Regions from separate parts of the Homo sapiens genome. Here region 1 is linked to region 2. Evidence: promoter capture Hi-C in human tissues and cell types (Jung and others, 2019). All regions are on one chromosome and are shown on one strand. Each heading gives the region's core, a stretch centred on a gene start or on the middle of the fragment in contact. The rest is flanking DNA. Distances are from core to core; before and after follow the strand shown. Region 1 overlaps MMP26 (matrix metallopeptidase 26). Region 2 holds the start of OR51D1 (olfactory receptor family 51 subfamily D member 1).

Region 1 (3,330 bases), core at 548-3,047, 260 kb before region 2:
TTTTAAAGCAGTGTCTCAAAACTACATGCCTTCCACATTATATTGCATTCACTAGAACCGTCCGAGGAGTATCCTGCGTTTTATTCACATATTTCTATTTTATATGTCAGTTCCATCATGGTTTAAATTAAATAATAATTATTTAAGGCTATGAAACAATATAAAAATGTGAAGACAATTTAAGTAAAAATGTATAAAATAAGGATATATATATAACTGTTTTAAGTATTTCTTAAAGCATATTTCTAAGTTAAAAAGAAAAACTTTGGTTAAAATAATGGAAAGCCTTACATTAATAATAAAATAATTTTAATTAATACAATTTAATGGAATAATAATATAAAAGACACAACATGGCTCAAATACAAAATACATATATCTGTGAATAAGAAATGAATAGAAATTTAAAACAATGAGCAGGGATAAGCCCACTCATTGCTAGTTCCCATGTCTGGAGAAGACGATCAACTCCCATAAGATAAATGAGATTACATATTCTCCATGTTAAGTTATCTGAAGCAAATAGACTTATTAAATGTCATTGGGCTATTCTAGCAGATGCATTTGATACCCACCTTATTATCTTGGGACTTAACATTTTATTATAAGTTGCTAATTGGAAGAAAATATTTGCAAAAGACACAAGAATTCTTGAAACTCAATAAGAAAACAAACAACACAACTAAAAAGTGTGTCAAACAATAGCAAAGACATGAAACCAACCCAGGTGCCAACAGAAGGTTGGATAAAGAAAATGTGATACATGTACACCAGGGAATACTACACAGCCACAAAAAAAGAACAAAATCGTGTCCTCTGGAGCAACATGGATGCATCTGGAAGCCATTATCCTGAGCAAATTAACACAGCAACAGAAAACCAGATACTGTGTTCTTACTTGTAAGTGAGAAAAGATTCTAGAAAACAGATTGCCAATAAGAAATTCTAGAGTTGGATTCATCACTGTCTGCATCACAATAGGAACCACATCACTGGTTGCAGATGAAATGTTGATGGTCCCTGACATGCTGTAGCAAGTTATTGTTAAAATTTTCATCTGAAGTGAACTGTAATAGTACCCAGAGGAAAGGTAACTCACAAGATTTATTTATAAATAGAGCATTCTCTGTAAACTGGATTCTCTTACTGGCTACTTTTGTGTGTGTAACGAAAAGGGTCATGGAGGACTACTGTGGACTCCAATCTCAACCAAGTAGAAACATCAGTTTAAAGTTTTATGTCAGGTGCAGTGTTTTTACCAGGGAAGATTAAGATTAACCTGGATTCGATTATCAAGTATGTAGTATTTATGTGGCAAATATATTCTCTTCCATCTTCTATAATAAATCTATAATTTGAAAATACTTATTTTCTTTGGATATTTTGCATAATATTTTATTGACCCACTATATCAATGACAATATATTAATCAGGTAGACGAGCATGAAATGCAAGTATATTGGCATTCTTGTCAAAACACAGTGCTCTTTAGGTGGGAAAGGATAGAGATAAACACCCATACAAAAAAGTAGGAATCTTAAACATTAGAGAAGTTTTTAGGGATCCTGCGGTATAGGAAAAATTGCGACAGCCTCTCTCAGTTAATAGACAAACTAAAGCATTTTTTATCTTTTACCACCAAGAAGAAAGTACCACATGTAGTGACCTCCTGAAACCCCGGAGGCAGCATATGCCACACTTTGAGTGCTAATTCTACTCACATAACAGAAAGACGTATGCCCATGCTAAGACACAAGTAAGACCATCAAGCACAACTGAAAGAGCACAAAGAGGGGGCCGGGCATGGTGGCTCACACCTGTAATCCCAGCACTTTGGGAGGCCGAGGCAGGCGGATCACAAGGTCAGGAGATTGAGACCATCCCGGCAAACACTGTGAAACCCCGTCTCTACTAAAAATACAAAAAAATTAGCCAGGTGTGGTGGCAGGCACCTGTAGTCTCAGCTACTCAGGAGGCTGAGGCAGGAGAATGGCATGAACCCCGGGGGGCAGAGCTTGCAGTGAGCGGAGATCACGCCACTGCACTCCAGACTGGGCGACAGAGTGAGACTCCGTCTCAAAAAAAAAAAAAAAAAAAAAAAAAAAGCACAAAGAGGTGATGCGAAGTCCACTGATGTTAGTGCACTACTATTGCAATGTGGTGCACTTTCCCTAAGCTTACACTTGTAGCTACGTGGATGATCCCTTATGACCAGCTGGTGGGGGATGAAAGCCAAGTTAGTTCATAAATGAGTAAAGTTGGTATGCCAAAAATGAACTGTAGATGTGTTACTGATCCATTAAGGAGTGACTTTGAAAGATAGTACTTAGGAGAAATACATCCCACGGACAAATCAGCTGATGGACTCACTCATCCTCTTTGTATAAAAAAGAGGTGGTTCTATGTAAGAATACACAAAAATTCAACTTATTGTTAATGGTGGGTAACTTGGCTAATTGACCAGGCTGTTGGAAGGAGAAAGACTGGAATACTAGTGACAAAGAGGCAGAGGGATGAAGTGGCATGTGGATGGTTCTAGAAGTTAGAACAAAGTTTGAAGATCTTTATATAAAAGATCAATGTTCATCATAGTCTATACATAATGGAAAAGAACCTAAGCTATAAAGAACACTGAGTGGACCTGACAATTTATATCAGCTAGATTCTGATATAAGCAACCTCAGTGGTGGCATAATTGGCTCCTAATTGAAGTAGCTATAGTGGCAGGATGAAAACTGCATAAACACAAAGCATAGTTTCCCACTCAACAAGGCTGATAAAACTTCTCTTTCTACTAAATATTAACCTGGCAATGATAGAAAACAATGTTAACTGCCCAATGTAGCATCACTTCTTGAGTAGAAAATGGCCACTTAATGGAAGATTATTCTACCCCACAAAAGGCAGCAAATGAACTTGATAGAAATTGACACATATGATGGGTGTAGGTTTGTTTTATTTTCTTGAAGAGTCATAGCCAAACCTAGTATCTCAGGGCTTACAAAGGGTTTGATCCACCAGCATAGGACATTATGTTATATCACTTCATGAAAAGGGACACATTTTAGAATACTTGCAACAGTAGACACACAACCATGCTTGTATCATGGGCTACACCACTCAAAAGCTTCCAATCTGGTACAGAAATAGAACAGGTAGAGTTGAGTCTCCACCTTAGAGACGACATTAGTGAGGATGAGACAACATACCCCAGATGCGTCATGTACAACACACCAACAATCATTATACATAGCTTTGACTGCAATGATTAGAATAAATATATTTGGGAACAAAAGAGCTGAAATTAAGAGTAGTCCCACTTACCATCAT
Region 2 (3,227 bases), core at 406-2,905:
AGGGCAAGGTTTTGGAAATCTTTTTAAAAAACAATAAGCCCCGCCAGGTACAGTGGCTCACGCCTGTAATCCCAGCACTTTGGGAGGCCGAGGTGGGCAGATCGCAAGGTCAGGGGTTCGAGACCAGCCAGGCCAACATGGTGAAACCCTGCCTCTATTAAAAATGCAAAAGTTAGCCAGGCTTGGTGGAGCGCACCTGTAATCCCAGCTACTCAGGAGGCTGAGGCAGGAGAATCATTTGAACCTGGGCGGCAGAGGCTGCAGTGAGACGAGATCACCCCCACTGCATTCCAGCCTGGGTGACACAGCGAGACACCAACTCAAAAACAAAACAAAACAAATAAACAAACAAAAAACGATAAGCCCCTTTCCCCTAGGAAATTTGTGCTTTAAATCAGAGAACTTTGGGGAAAGTTGTTCTGGTGTTCTTGGGGGCAGGGAGGTGAATGAAGAGGGACTATCATTTCCATTTCCAGCTCCCAAACGAACAATAAGCAGCATCTGCCATCAAGATCTCTCAAGCCCCAGGTGAGAGTCAGTCCCAGGTTGCGCTCAGCAAGAGGAGCATGTCATGGAAATCAGATGCAGCTGAGACATGAACAGAAAATCAGCCAGTGCTGCTGCTGTTACTCCACAGTGTTCACAGGCACACACACCTCTCCCTCCACCTACTCTCCCTGGTGATCACACAACGTCCCAGGCTCAACTTCTTTCTCTCTACAGACCACACTGTTCTAAGCCTGTGTCCTGAGATTCAGCCATATAACCTACCGCCTCCTTGATAGTTCTACCTGGATAGCCTATGGGCCTCCCACTCATCTTGCCTCTAACAGGGACCCCTTCCAAACCTGTTCCTGATCTCAGAGAATGCCACTGCTCAGAACCCACATCACCCAAGTCAGGGCAGCTGGTCTCATCTTGACCCGTCTCCTCTTTCACCCCCACATGCAATTCAACTTTTCCAATTAATTATTGGGGCCGTTCCTCTTAATACACCTCCTCCCAACTTAATTATATTATCCACTCTGCCCTGATTATAAAAAGAGCCTTCCAACTTACCTCCCTGCCTCCAAACCTAGTCTATTCCAAACCACCTTCCACACCACTGCCATCTAAACAGCAAAACTGGACACCTGGGGCTCCTGCTGAGCAAGTTAGGAGTGATTCCCATAGCTTTCCAGATAAAGTGAGAACTAGTAACTCCACAGTATGCAGACAAGGCCCTTCACAGTGTTCCTCTAACTCAACTTTCCAGCCCAGCTTCAGTTTCCTTCTTCATCACCAATCACCACCAGCACCACCACAACACACACGTGCACATACACACACACGTACACACTCACACACATTTTTTTCCTGGTAAAGTAATTCCCCTTGCCTTGCTTAAGTGAAGAGTAGGAGGCAGGAACTGAGGAGTCCTGTCCTGGGACAAAGGATAGGCAAAGCTTGGAACGGGTCTCACAGGCTTGAAGAAATTCCTCTGTGTAGGAACAAGGTCCAGGAACCGGGCTACTGTGATCTGGAAAAGGTGTACACTAGAAGACCTCTCCAAGCAGCCAAGCTGACTGATCAAGTCCCGGCTTCCTTATGCAATGAGCCTTCTGTGCCTGTCTCTGCGGACCCTCCCGTTGCCTAACCTCCCTGGGCTGAGCCTGCTACACTCACCACCAGTGCTTCCCCAGCGCATGGAGGCCGCCCAATTATAGCTTCTCTGGGGCCCCTCAGGAGTGTGTAGAGTGATGGAGAGTGAACGAGTCGGGTCTCCCTGGCACTGACGCTCTGCTCAGACGCCCAAGGAAAGCTGAGCCCTGACTCCTACCCAAAGGGACTGAGCTCTATCACTATCCCTCTGAGCCCAGCTCAAGAGACTAGAGGGAGGCTGTGTCGCGGGGTGGAAAGGAGAAGAGGAATAACGGGGCTGGAAGAGAGGACCTGCTGGAATGGAGGGGTGGGCACTCAGCAGAAAGCACGCAGGGATACCAGCGCTCCGAACACACTAACTACCCAAGGGGATCGAAGCTGTGTCAGGGACTCTCGCTTCTTCATGCTGCCACCTTGTGGTCGCACAGGGGATCTTCAGCCTCGTGGCCGTCCCTGAGCAATGGCTCTGAGGATGATGCCTTTAAGAACCAAGGACCCAACTGACTCTAGCATCTGAGCTCTTTCCACTACTCTGCGCTGCCCCTTAGCTCTCCCTCTCACCCTCTCAAGCCCACCCTTTCTTCCTTGGGTCGCTAATCATAGATGTCCTGTCCCTCCAGAAATGAGACCGTGTGGCATGTTTGTTTGAACATGGGGCTCTAGAAGGAAACAGACTTGGGTCCGCCCATTTATTAATAGTATGACTACTATAAGCATTTAGTGTGAAAGCATTTAATGTGAAAAACGAAATGAGATACTAGCAAGTCTCCAGTGAATGTTTGTGTTCATTATTACTAGTCAAAACAAATGGAAGAGCCAAGGACGTAGGAAATCCAGTAGACAGTGCCACAAAAGAGACAGGAAAAAATATATTGACAAGGAAGATTGGTCAGCAGTTCAGAAAGCTGCCGAGAGATCAAGCAGTGAAAAGACTGAAATCAAAGGTCACTGGCTACCTGGATAACAGGGTGGGGGATGGAATCTTGAGTGAAGCAGTGTGAGGAGTGTGTTAGGAAGAGATGAAGAGAGTCGATGTAGACAACCCTTTTAAGATATTTGTACGTGAACAGAGGAGTGAAATGGACAATATTGGGAGGATTTATAGCTCCACAGAGATTTTAAAATGTGTATTTTGGAACTAGAAGAGACTAAATGTCAACAGGATGGAGTTGGCAGAGAGACTCCTTGTCCTTTACTCCTCACATTACTGGTAGCTATGGCCCAGGAAGATAATCTGTCTTCCCCCTCTATATAGTAACTATGAGTAATCTTACTTTGTCCAGTAGCTTTCATCACCCAAGCAGGCCAGACCAATCTCCTAAACTCCAAATATGGTAAAGTCTATTGGACATAGGTGTCCTTCAGGCACCTCAAACTCAACACCTAACTCATCATTTCTAAGCTCATTGATTTCATTATCAACTAAGCTCATCATCTCTGCTCTTCAATCCGGACCCCGCTCCCTGTCTGTTTTATGTTCCCTGTCATATAAATCACTCTGTTGGCCATGTCAAAAATTTAGAAATCATCATCCCTGCCTTCTCCCCATCTCTCTCTCACCTTCCTCTCCAACCACATCCAATCAG

The links. The method cuts DNA at HindIII sites, captures the fragments that hold promoters and counts their contacts. A contact is called where the count stands out against the background at its distance.
Region 1: a fragment that was not itself captured here is called in contact with the fragment with the promoter of OR51D1 in region 2 in 5 of the 25 tissues and cell types used here (H1 embryonic stem cells, aorta, mesenchymal stem cells and 2 more).

The regions. Positions count from the first base shown.
Region 1 is chr11:4,899,925-4,903,254 of GRCh38, reverse strand. All of the region lies in intron 2 of MMP26 (matrix metallopeptidase 26), which reads right to left. Among named protein-coding and RNA genes, the nearest start is that of OR51A7, 2.2 kb to the left of the region's middle. The HindIII fragment of the contact is 6,232 bases long and covers 1-3,330 here.
Region 2 is chr11:4,635,905-4,639,131 of GRCh38, reverse strand. It overlaps OR51D1 (olfactory receptor family 51 subfamily D member 1), which reads right to left and starts at 1,655. Exons shown (of 2, transcript NM_001004751.3): 1 at 1,379-1,655. The HindIII fragment of the contact is 12,772 bases long and covers 1-3,227 here.